Linked DNA regions of Homo sapiens: regions 2, 3 and 4 are each linked to region 1. Evidence: promoter capture Hi-C in 16 types of primary human blood cells and fetal thymus (Javierre and others, 2016). All regions are on one chromosome and are shown on one strand. The core of a region is centred on a gene start or on the middle of the fragment in contact, and the rest is flanking DNA. Distances in the headings are between cores, read along the strand shown. Region 1 holds the start of SIGLEC8 (sialic acid binding Ig like lectin 8). Region 2 overlaps ETFB (electron transfer flavoprotein subunit beta). Region 3 has its middle 19 kb from the start of ZNF175. Region 4 has its middle 2.7 kb from the start of SIGLEC6.

Region 1 (3,102 bases), core at 189-2,688:
AACTTCTTCCCAGCCCCCAGCCACACAGTTTAAAATAATCTGTTGAGGCCAGGCACGGTGGCTCACACCTGTAATCCCAGCACTTTGGGAGGCTGAGGTGGGTGGATCATGAGGTCAGGAGATCCAGACCATCCTGGTCGACATGGTGAAACCCCGGCTCTACTAAAAATACAAAAATTAGCTGGATGTGGTGGCGTATGCCTGTAATCCTAGCTACTTGGGAGGCTGAGGCAGGAGAATCGCTTGAACCAGGGAGTCAGAGGTTGCAGTGAGCCGGGATCGCGCCACTGCACTCCAGCCTGGCGACAGAGAGAGACTCCGTCTCAAATAATAATAATAATAATAATAATAATAATCATCATCATCATCATCATCATCATCATCATCTGTTGAATTCAGGTGCACATTTCTTCTCTCAAGAAATCCTGCCCATCGCTGAAGGTGCACACCCCAGGGCTGGTGTCCTCGTTCCATGACACCTGTTCACCTGGACCCCTGGAAGCAGAGCCTGCAGGAGCAAAGCCCCAGGGCTGACAGACCCCGCCTGCTGTGCAGTAACCAGGGGAAGTGTGGCTGAGTAAGATACGGGTGGTGAAGAAACCCATTCTGATACCCAGATAGCTGCAACAAAGGGAGAAGTGTGTGCCCTTTTCAAATTGACCCTTTCCCTTCTGACATTTCTCCCTTCCAAACCCCACAGTACAACAGTTACAGCCTCAGTTTCCCAGGCCTCCTGCGAGCCAGGCTTCCCCCCGCCCCCCGTCCTTCGTGTGTATCAACATGCAGAATCCTCACCTCCACAGCCCCGTGTCCCTCTGCTCAGGCCTCCTGAGACTGAACCCCTGACCTAGGGGAGAACGACCCCACCTTGCCTGTGCCCCCCACTGAAGCTCCCGTCCTGGGGAGCTCAGACGTCAGGAGCCTCCGTGTCTCCCCTCTGCACAGTGACTCCTTGAGGACAGTGTCTGGCTCTGCTCTGTTGACCTCGTTGTGTAAAGAGGAGGTGCCCACTTCGTTGCTGCTGAGAGAGGGAGGAGAGGCTGCCTGCTCACCTCACCTGCACCCCAGTCTCTCATGGCCCTGAGTTCCACCTTTGGCTGGTATGACCTCCACAAACAGTGACAGCCCCGGGGGTGATTCAGGGGTCTGGCCAGATGGGACCCAATTTCACCTTGCAGAAAATGTTACCCAAATGGAAGGGCAAGTCCGGGAAGCAAGAAAGAGGTTGGGCCCTGCATAGGGTGGGAATCTGGATGAGTTTCTCACCCTCTCTGGCCTCAGGGTTCCCAGGAGTGGAAATGGGGTGGTGGACAGTGGATCTCCCAGGACTGACCCGGCCCTGACAGTGTCTGTGTGTGAAGTTCCTCCTCTGAGGAGGTCACTTTTCTGACTTCACCCCCAACCTCCTGCGGGACCTCCCCTAAGTCTTGAGACCTCAGTTTCTGAGAGAAGAACCCTGAGGAACAGACGTTCCCTGGCGGCCCTGGCGCCTTCAAACCCAGACATGCTGCTGCTGCTGCTGCTGCTGCCCCTGCTCTGGGGGACAAAGGGGATGGAGGGAGACAGACAATATGGGGATGGTTACTTGCTGCAAGTGCAGGAGCTGGTGACGGTGCAGGAGGGCCTGTGTGTCCATGTGCCCTGCTCCTTCTCCTACCCCCAGGATGGCTGGACTGACTCTGACCCAGTTCATGGCTACTGGTTCCGGGCAGGAGACAGACCATACCAAGACGCTCCAGTGGCCACAAACAACCCAGACAGAGAAGTGCAGGCAGAGACCCAGGGCCGATTCCAACTCCTTGGGGACATTTGGAGCAACGACTGCTCCCTGAGCATCAGAGACGCCAGGAAGAGGGATAAGGGGTCATATTTCTTTCGGCTAGAGAGAGGAAGCATGAAATGGAGTTACAAATCACAGTTGAATTACAAAACTAAGCAGCTGTCTGTGTTTGTGACAGGTAAGGCACGGGCTCCAGCACAGGCCACAGGGGAAGGTCATGAGGGGCTGAAAGGCAGGGCTGGGATGGGGCCTGGGAGGGGGTTGGGATTGAAATAAGTCGGTCTCCGGGGAGGAGCTGGACCAGAGCTTGAGCTTCCTCCAGGGCTGCACCTGAAATACCTCCTCCTGATCCTGTGTCCCCATCTTCACCAGCCCTGACCCATAGGCCTGACATCCTCATCCTAGGGACCCTAGAGTCTGGCCACTCCAGGAACCTGACCTGCTCTGTGCCCTGGGCCTGTAAGCAGGGGACACCCCCCATGATCTCCTGGATTGGGGCCTCCGTGTCCTCCCCGGGCCCCACTACTGCCCGCTCCTCAGTGCTCACCCTTACCCCAAAGCCCCAGGACCACGGCACCAGCCTCACCTGTCAGGTGACCTTGCCTGGGACAGGTGTGACCACGACCAGTACCGTCCGCCTCGATGTGTCCTGTGAGTGCTGGACCAAGATGCCCAGGTCCCTCATGGGTTGGGAGGTGTTCCTGAGGGCAGGGGATGGGGTTCAAGCCTGGACACTGGGTTCTGGGTCCCAGAATCTGGGCTGGGAGTGGGGTCAGGAGAATGCCGACTCCATTTTCCCTGTATTTGCAGCTCCTGGGAAGACAGGGCCAATGTCCCCAGTCCTTATAGTAATGTGGGTCTTCATGTCTTTCTGTCCCAGACCCTCCTTGGAACTTGACCATGACTGTCTTCCAAGGAGATGCCACAGGTAGGACAGAGCCCCCTCCCTGGGGTTGGGGGAGCAGGGCCTTCAGCTCAGGATGGGGCTGGGTCTCTCCTCATCCTGGAATCACTTTGGGAAACAGAGCTGCCACTGTGCGTGAGCCCAGGGCACAAGAGCCCACATCTCCAGCCCGCGTGACCATCTGAGCCCCTGTCCCCATCCTGTCCCTGCTCCCCTTAGACTCCTCCACACACCCCTTCCTTGGCCCCACAGCAAGGACAGGGTGACATTCACACAGCTGGATCAGACTCCCAATTTTTTTGGTTTTTGTTCGTTTTTATTTTGGGACCAGACTTTCAAGTTTCTTGTCAGGCATCTCCTGAATACTTCCTCTGTCTGATCTTTCTGTTTTCCCAGTAGTTTCGATCTAAGTACTTCT
Region 2 (3,102 bases), core at 183-2,682, 110 kb after region 1:
GCACAATTTGTTAAGTTTGCTTTTCTTAAACTCTTTTATTTAGATAGAGATGGGGGTCTCACTATGTTGCCCAAGCTGGTCTTTAACTCCTGGGCTCAAGCAAGCTGCTCACCTCAGCCCTCCAAAATTTAAGTTTTGATATGTGTTACATCCATGAAATCATCACCACAATCATGATAATGTGTCTTGAATTCTCAGTATTTATTTATTTTTATTTTTTTGAGGTGGAGTCTTGTTCTGTCCCCAGACTGGAGTGCAGTGGCGCGATCTTGGCTCACTGCAGCCTCCGCCTCCCGAATTTAAGCGATTCTCCTGCCTCAGCCTCCCGAGTAGATCGGATTACAAGCGTGCATCACCATACCTGGATAATTTTTGTATTTTTAGTAGAGACAGGGTTTCGCCATGTTGGCCAGGCTGGTCTTGAACTCCTGACCTCAAGTGATCCACCCGCCTTGGCCCCTCAAAGTGCTGGGATTACAGGCATGAACCACTGCGCCTGGCCAAATTATCAGTATTTAAATTTAAATAAAATGTAAAAATTCATTCCTCAGCTGCACTGGCTGGACAGCCACACGCAGCCAGTGGCTACTGGATGGGACAACACATTCAAAACCATTATCCTGTTTTATCTTCAAAGCATTTACCACTGTCTGACTAGCTTCTCCAACGTGCGCCCTTCTTGCTCTCATATCATGTGTCTTATTTTCTTCTTATTCCTTCTGATTGGAAATGATCTCATTTGTGTGTGTGTGTTTTTCCCTGGTGACTGGTTGTCTTCCCTGGCAGAATATGAGCCCACCCAAGCTGGTGCTTCACTGGTCGTGTTCACAGTGTGTCTCCAGGGGCAGGTTCATAAGGGCACTAGGAGGAGGTTGTGAATGAAGGGAGGTGATGTTCACACTAAGACCTGAAAAATGTGTCCAGTTAATAAGTGGACAGGGACAAAGGTCGTTAGACAAAGAGGAGTGTAGGTGGCATCAGTTACCAGGGGAGGAAATGTTGATTCAGGACTGAGAGGCAAAGGGACCTGGCTAGAGGACGGGGTCCCAGAAGGTGGTTTAAGGACTGGTGTGGACACACACAGTTCTGTTGTCTGCCCAGCGGAGGGGCCTCACGGGGGGCCGTTGGGAGCCAGATTGTCAGCTTTTGGATTTACCAGCTGTGGGTGGCAGTGGGCGTGTAACTCAGCATCTTGCTGCCTCAGTTTCTCTCATCTGTAAAGTGGGGATAATAACATTTACCTCATAAAGTTCCTGCGAGGATTCGATGACTTGATACATCAGTTGCTTAGCACAGGGCTCAGCACTCAGTACATGTTCCCTGTCAGGAAGGCAGGGAGGCCTCACTGGCAGCATCAGGACATGGGACATCAGGACATACACCGTGGCTCTCAGGGAAAGGAAAAAGACCCTCTCCCAGGTGTACAAGCTCGATTCTAAACCTCATGGGACCCTGCATTGTTCGCTCCCTCATTCATTCACTAGTCCATGCGTGTACTCAGTAGTGGCATAAGCAGACTGCTCGGGTCGGACCTGAATTAGCCTCACCCACTCTCCTCCTACACTGTCCCTCCCCAGGGCACATTCGCCTCCCAGGTGACGCTGGAGGGGGACAAGTTGAAAGTGGAGCGGGAGATCGATGGGGGCCTGGAGACCCTGCGCCTGAAGCTGCCAGCTGTGGTGACAGCTGACCTGAGGCTCAACGAGCCCCGCTACGCCACGCTGCCCAACATCATGGTGAGCCCCTGGCCAGCGGGCACTGAGGGCCTGGGGGTGGCAAGCACATTGCCAGCCCAGTGCCCCCCGGTGGTCGCACGTGGGGAGGGAAGGATCCAAAGGAGGTCTCGTGCACAGGAAGCCGTCACCTGGAGTTTGGCTGATAGAGAGAGTTTGCTGGGTCATCTCTGCCAATACTGAGAGTTCATGGGGGCTGCTTTGGCTAGCAGGGAGGGCTTGCTGGTATCTAGGCCAGTAGAAAGCCTTCGCTGGGCAGCAGAAGGTGTTCCCTTTGTCATTCCAGCCAGTGGAACAAGTTCACTGGGTCATCTAGGTTCATTAGGGAGGGTCCCCTTGGTAATTTTTGCCAATGTGAAGTTACCATGTAGATCATCTTAGTTAACTAGGAAGGGTGCATGGGGTCTCTTGGCTAACAGGTAGAGTTCACTAATCATCATGGCCAGTAGATGGGTTCGCTGGGTCATCTTGGCCAATATTAACAGTTTAGTGGGTCATCTCCGCCAATAGAGAATATTCATCTCAGCCAACAGGGAGGGTTCACTGGATCATCTCAACTAATGGGGAGGGTTCAATGAGTCATTTCAGCCATTACAGAGTGTTCACTACATCATCTCAGCCTATAGGGAGGGTTCAGCGCATCATCTCAGCCTATAGGGAGGGTTCAGCGCATCATCTCAACCTATAGGGAGGGTTCTGCGCATCATCTCAGTCTATAGGGAGGGTTCAGCACATCATCTCAGTCTATAGGGAGGGTTCAGCGCATCATCTCAACCTATAGGGAGGGTTCTGCGCATCATCTCAGCCTATAGGGAGGGTTCAGCGCATCATCTCAGTCTATAGGCAGGGTTCAGCGCATCATCTCAGCCTATAGGGAGGGTTCAGCGCATCATCTCAGCCTATAGGGAGGGTTCAGCGCATCATCTCAGCCTATAGGGAGGGTTCTGCGCATCATCTCAGTCTATAGGGAGGGTTCAGCGCATCATCTCAGCCTATAGGGAGGGTTCAGCGCATCATCTCAGCCTATAGGGAGGGTTCAGCGCATCATCTCAGCCTATAGGGAGGGTTCAGCGCATCATCTCAGCCTATAGGGAGGGTTCAGCGCATCATCTCAGCCTATAGGGAGGGTTCAGCGCATCATCTCAGTCTATAGGGAGGGTTCAGTGCATCATCTCAGCCTATTGGGAGCCTTCAGCATGCCATCTCAACCAAAAGTCCACTGAGTCATTACTACCAAAAGGATGGGTTTGCCACTCTGTTGCAGCCAGTGAAGGGCTTCCTGATTTGGTTACCTAAAGGAGGACTGCTGCAGTAGTTGGGCCTCCCAGGGCCTCCTAGCCAGCAGGAGTTGTCCACACCAGGTGTGGCC
Region 3 (3,102 bases), core at 345-2,844, 94 kb before region 1:
ATGAGCTGCTGCTGGCTTTGACCCAAAACATTCCTGGGGTAAAGAAGGAGCCGGGAGGGGCACAGAGGGAAGTCCAGCCCATACAGACCCACAGTCGGCCCCTCCTTAACTTCCTCCCTCTTGGGCGGCCCAATCCTGTGACTCAGCTGTTTTGCCGGCTGGAGACCCCGATCTGGATCCTATCTAGTCAGACTCCTCTGCATAGCCCAGTCATTCCTAAACCAGGGACACAGTCCTGCTTCAGCACCAGGGACAGCGCCACTCTCCCTGATGCCTGTGGCTCGCCAGGACCAAAACGTGTCTGGATGTGCAGCGAGAGCCACCAGCCTCTTTGCGCGGTCCCTGATGGTAGACATGGGAGAGAACGGCGCAGGATAGGAAAACCTCCCAGTCTGTGTCTGCCCTTCTCGGGCTCTCGGTCACGCCCAGGAGATGGGCCCTTAGATCACTCAGAGAGGGAATCTGCACATATCCCTGGTTTCTTGCCTCTTAGGACAGACTCCACCCCCGGGGCCTTCAGGAATCCCTGTCTAATTGTGATAAACTCCCTTCGCCTCCCCCTCTCCCTCCTCCTCCTTCTCCTCCCCCTCCTCTTCCTCCCCTCCCCCTCCTCCTCCTCCTTCTCCTCCCCCCCTCCTCTTCCTCCTGCTCATCTTTCTCTGTCTCTCTCCCTCTCTCCTACCCCTTTCTCTCTCTCTTCCCTGCTTCTTCGTCTATCTCAGTCTATGTCTCTTTTCACCTTCTTCCCCTTTCCCCTCTTCTGTCTTTCTCTCCCTGTCTCCCTTTTTCCTGCCTCTCTACCTTTCTTTCTGTCTCAGTCTGTTTCTAGTCTCTTTCTTTCCCCCTTTGCCTTGTCTGAGGGCAAAGGGAATGTTCCTGTTGAAGGAAAACTTTCTCTCTCTCTCTCTCTCTGTCTGTCTGTCTCTCTCTTTCTCTATCTCTTTCCCCTCTCCCTCTCTTCCTCTTCTCTCTTTTTCTCTCTCCCTCTCTCTCTCTCTGTCTCAATCTGTGTCTCTTCCCCTCTCCCTCTTCTTCCCTACTCCTCTCACCTCTGTACCACCTCCGACTGGTACTCGTACCCAATTGGAGCTCTGGAGGACAAAGAACAAGACTCATGGTCCTTTTCAGTCTTTAGCTTTGTGCCCAATCCTAAAAGATTACATATATATATATATGTCATATATCATATATATAATATATATATTATGTATATATGCTTCAGGATCTGTAGGCTAAATGGAGGAACAGAATATCAGGCAGCTGATGGAAGCATGGTCTTTGGAAGTGATGGAAGACATTCAAAGTGTTTAGGCACACAAGGGATCTTACTTAGATTGAAAAAAGAGTCCCGTGAGCTCAGAGATGGGGAGCTGTCCATGGGAGACCTAGCAGGCTATTCATTTCAAGAGAGAGAGAGGCCAGGAGAGGAATATTTGCTGGTCACTCCACAGAGGGGAGGAGTTGTAGAGGCTGGAAAACTGTGGAAAAGTCAAAGTGAAGAGACTGTGTATGTATATGTGCAGGCAGGGCCCACAGGAAGTGAGAGTAGGAGGAGAGACACAGGACAAGTTCTTTCTGCCTCACCCTGAACCCAAAGAGCTCACCTAAGTCTGGAGCCAGAGCTGGAGCCACGGCTGGAGCTGAGGACAGAGAGGGTTCCATTTTAGGAGAGTCTCAGTCTCACTCTCCTATGACCCTATGCAAGGGGCTCCAAGAAAAGCAACTGGGGAAAACAGACCCAGAAACTCCACATCTCTCTTGAGGGAAGTGGGGGTTGGTCTTCAGGTGGTGAGGAAGAGGAGGAAGGAAGGTCCCACCCTGCTGTGGTCAGGGGAGAGGAGAGCTCAGCTTTCATTTCCCCTGTAGTGGTCTGAGGGCAAAAGTAGCGTTTGCTGAAGGCAGAAATTTGGGAGAGGAACAATACATTCAATCCAGGAAGAGAATCTATCACTCCAAGGTTGTGCCCACTTCCAAGTGGGAGAGGCTAATCAGTGAAGACAGCCTAGTTCTCTCACTGTTTGGGGTGCTACTTGTAGACTGCCCAATCCTGTCACTGTTCGGGGCACCGCTTGTAAACTGCACGGACCTTGGGGGACTGAACAAAGGGGGACGAACGCGGGAACAAAGACAAGAGAACAAAAGAATGTGTTTGGAAGAAGGGGTCAGGGGGCACCTTGCCTCTAGTGGACAAGGGCCCTGAACTTTACACAGCCCTCCATATTTATTAGGCAAAAGAGATAGCGAGAAGGAGGGGTGGAAGAAGAGGTCAGCTGCTCCATCTAGAGTAGGCTTGCAAGACTGTATTCCTTGAACAGTAGGCCCTAGATGTCCCAGAAGATAACTTCAAGGAGCCGGCGCCAGGGAGTGACCGCCCTCAGCAAACCTTCTGGCGGCAGGTGCAGTCGTGAGTTTGCTCACATCCTGTATTCATGATAAACAGTTTGCTGTTTGATCATATAGCCTCCAGTGGAATGCTGAGTTGGTCACGATCTCTTTGGCCTTTTCGGCTCCCAACAAATCAGATGGTGTCAGCGGAATGTAGAACATCCTTTTCCGCTGCTGCCATTGCCCCAGCTGTGAGGGCAGCAGAGGCCTGAGGAAGAGGTTGCTCAGTCGGGCTGCAGCCACAGCTTGCTTCCCGGCAGCAGTCCCATGAGAATCAGCCGGCTGTGCTCTCACCTTTCAGTCAGTGACGGTGAAGAGGGAACCTTTGCATTCTGTGCCCAGCTTCATTCTCCAGTCCAATCCATGGGTTTTCTGGACTGACTTTAATCCAGTCCACACCCACCTTTGGATCCCAGAGGGGGCCCACAGACACCATAATCCCCCTGTGGCCACAAATAAGCCCTGTCAAAACTTGGAAGAAGGCTGGGCGCAGTGGCTCATGCCTGTAATCCTAGCACTTTGGGAGGCCGAGGTGGGTGGATCACCTGAGGTCAGCAGTTCTAGACCAGCCTGGCCAACATGGTGAAACTCCATCTCTACTAAAAATACAAAAATTAGCCAGGTGTAGAGGCAGGTGCCTGTAATCCCAGCTACTAGGGAGGCCAAGGCAGGAGAATCGCTTGAACCTGGGAGGTGGAAGTTGCAGTGAGCCGAGAT
Region 4 (3,102 bases), core at 288-2,787, 76 kb before region 1:
AGAGATACAGAAGGCCCAATGATCCCCGGGCAGATCCCCAATGCAAAAGGTCTTCTCCTTGGCACATTATAGTCAGACTGTGTGAAGTCAAAGTTAAAGAGCAAATTCTACAAATAGCAAGAGAAAAGCATCTAGCTACCTCTAAAGGAAATTCCATTTGACTAAGAGCAGATTTCTCAGTAGAAACCTTACACACCAGAAAAGAAGGAACTGATATATTCTAAGTGCTAAAAGAAAAAATAACTGCCACCACAGAACATGCAAAGAAACTATTCTTCATAAATAAAAGAGAAATAGATTCATCCCAAGACAAACAAATGCTGATGAAATTTATTACCACTAGACCAGCCTTGGAAAAAATACTCAAAGGAGTCCTAAACCTGGAAGCAAAAGGATGATTTTATCATCACGAAAACATATGAAAGTAAAAAATTCACTGGTAAAGCAATCATGCAAATGAGAACTAGAAAGGACTCAAATGGTACCACTACAGAAATCCACCAAATCACAAGGACAAACAATAAGATAAAAGGAAAGAAACAACGAATGTTTAAAACAAGAAAATGTTTAATAACCTGACAGAAAGAAAGCCTCACAAATCAATAATAACCATGTATGTAAATGGATTAAAGTATCCTCTTAAAAGATATAGAATGGCTGAATGGATTTTAAAAATGACTCAACAGTGTGCAGCTTAAAGAAACACACCTTAAGAAAAGACACATATAGACCAAAAGTAAAAGGATGGAGAAAGATATTCCACACAAATGGAAACCAATAGTAAGCAGCAGTAACTATACTTAGATAAAACAGACCTTAGGTCAAGAGCAGTAGAAAAAGACAAAGAAGGTCATTATATAATGATGAAGGGATCAACCCAGCAAGAGGATATAACAATTCTAAATATATATGCACCCAGCAATGGAGCAGCCATATCTATAAAGCAAATATTACTAGATCTAAAGAGAGAGATAGAATGCAATACAATAATGGTGGGAAGCTTCACCACCCTATTCTCAGTAAGACAGATCACTTAGACAGAAAATCAACAAACAAACATCACATTTAAACTACACTATAGACCAAATGGAACTAACAGACTTTTACAGAACTTCTACCCAACAACTGCAGAATACATATTCTTTTCATCAGTACATGAAACATTCTCCAGGATACACCATATATTCGGCTACGAAATAAGTCTCTATAAATTAAAAAAAAAATCAATATTTACTCAATGTATACTCAGACCACAATGGAACAAAACAACAAGTCAGCACCAAGAGGAACTCTGGAAACAAGACAAATGTATGGAAATTAAACAATATGCTCTTAATGACCTACCAGGTGAAAATCTATACAGGAAAAACTAAAAAACACTGATGAAAGAAATTGAAGATGACACAAACAAATGGAAAAACATCCCATACTCATGACTGGAAGAATTAAGATAGTTAAGAAGCCCACACTGGTCTATAGCAATCTAAAGATTTAATGTAATCCATATGAAAATACCAATGTCAGTCTTCACAGAATTGTAAAAAACAATTATAAAATTCATATGGATCCAAAAAGAACCTGAATAGCCAAAGCTATCCGGAGAAAAAAGAACAAAGCTGGTGGTATCACTTTACCTGACTTCAAAGTATATTACAAGGCTATAATAACCAAAACAGCATGATATTGGTATAGAAATAGATACATAGACCAATGGAATATAACCCAGAAATAAGGCCACATGTATACAGCCAATTGATTGTCAACAAAACTGACAAGAACTTATATTGAGGAAAGGACACCTTCTTCAATAAATGGTGCTGGGAAAATTGTATACCCACACACAAAAGAATGAAACTGGATTCTTCTCTCTCACCATATTAAAAAAAAACTCAAAATGAATCATACACTTAAATGTAAGACCCAAAACTATAAAAAAAAAAAACAGCTACAAGAAAACCTAGGGAAAACTCTTTTGAACATTGGTCAGAAGAGTCAGAAATTATGACTAAGTTCTGAAAAGCACAGGCAACAAAAACAAAAATAAACAAATGGGACTTAATAAACAAAAAGCTTCTGCCAGGAAAAGAAATAATTAGAGTGAAGAAACAACCTGTTGAATTGGAGAAAATATTCGCAAACTATTCTTCTGACAGGAGACTAATATCCAGACTATACAAGGAACTCAAACAACTCAACAGGAAAAAGCAAATAATCCAAGTAAAAAGTGGGCAAAGGACAGGAATAGACAGTTCTCAAAGAATACATAAGAACAGCCAATACGACAAAATGGTCAGCGTCACTAATCATCAGAGAAGTGCACATCTAAACCAAAATGAGATACCGTCTTACCCAGTCAGAATGACTATTACTAAAAAAACAAAAAATAACAGATTTTGGCAAGGATGAGGAGAAAGATAACTCTTCTGTACTGTTGGTGGGAATTTAAACTAGTACAGCCACTTTTGAAAACACTATGGACATTTCTCAGGAACTAAAAATAGAATTACTATTCGATCACTCAAGCAATCCCACTACTGGGTATCTACCCGAAGGGAAAGAAAGAAATACATCAAAGAGATACCTGCATTCACATGATTTTTGCTGCACTATTCACAATATCAGAGATATGGAACCAACCTAAGTGTCAATTAACAGATGAATGGATAAAGAAAATATAGTATACATGCTATTTGGCCATAAAAAAGAATGAAATCGTGTCATTTGCAGCAACATGGATGGGACTAGAATTCATTATCTAAATTGAAATAAGTCAGACACAAAAAGACAAATGTTGCATGTTCTCACTTACATGTGGGAGCTAAAAAAATATTATCACATGGAGGTGGACAGTAGAAAGATAGACAACAGAGACTGGAAAGGGTCAGATGGGGGAGGACAGAAGATGAAGAGAAGTGAGTGAAGTGCTACAAACATACAGTTAAAAGGAATAAATTCAGCGTTAGAGAGCAGAATAGTGTGATTTTAGTTAACAAGAATGTATTGCACTCACGTGACGGACACTCTAAATATCCTGACATAATCATTACGCATTATATACATGCAAAAAAATTTTACATCTACTCCTTAAGTTTGTAGAAATAA

The links. The method cuts DNA at HindIII sites, captures the fragments that hold promoters and counts their contacts. A CHiCAGO score of 5 or more calls a contact.
Region 2: a fragment that was not itself captured here is called in contact with the fragment with the promoter of SIGLEC8 in region 1 in 1 of 17 cell types (total B cells); the score reaches 5.4 in total B cells.
Region 3: a fragment that was not itself captured here is called in contact with the fragment with the promoter of SIGLEC8 in region 1 in 2 of 17 cell types (megakaryocytes and monocytes); the score reaches 6.8 in megakaryocytes.
Region 4: a contact is called between a fragment that was not itself captured here and the fragment with the promoter of SIGLEC8 in region 1, in 1 of 17 cell types (monocytes). The highest score is 5.7, in monocytes.

What each region holds. Positions count from the first base shown.
Region 1 is chr19:51,456,790-51,459,891 of GRCh38, reverse strand. It overlaps SIGLEC8 (sialic acid binding Ig like lectin 8), which reads left to right and starts at 1,438. Exons shown (of 7, transcript NM_014442.3): 1 at 1,438-1,958; 2 at 2,153-2,431; 3 at 2,661-2,708. The coding sequence starts at 1,505. The HindIII fragment of the contact is 20,005 bases long and covers 1-3,102 here.
Region 2 is chr19:51,345,534-51,348,635 of GRCh38, reverse strand. It overlaps ETFB (electron transfer flavoprotein subunit beta), which reads left to right. Exons shown (of 6, transcript NM_001985.3): 5 at 1,578-1,736. Among named protein-coding and RNA genes, the nearest start is that of VSIG10L, 4.9 kb to the right of the region's middle. The HindIII fragment of the contact is 7,447 bases long and covers 1-3,102 here.
Region 3 is chr19:51,550,524-51,553,625 of GRCh38, reverse strand. No RefSeq gene overlaps it. Among named protein-coding and RNA genes, the nearest start is that of ZNF175, 19 kb to the left of the region's middle. The HindIII fragment of the contact is 3,960 bases long and covers 1-3,102 here.
Region 4 is chr19:51,532,802-51,535,903 of GRCh38, reverse strand. No RefSeq gene overlaps it. Among named protein-coding and RNA genes, the nearest start is that of SIGLEC6, 2.7 kb to the right of the region's middle. The HindIII fragment of the contact is 1,070 bases long and covers 1,003-2,072 here.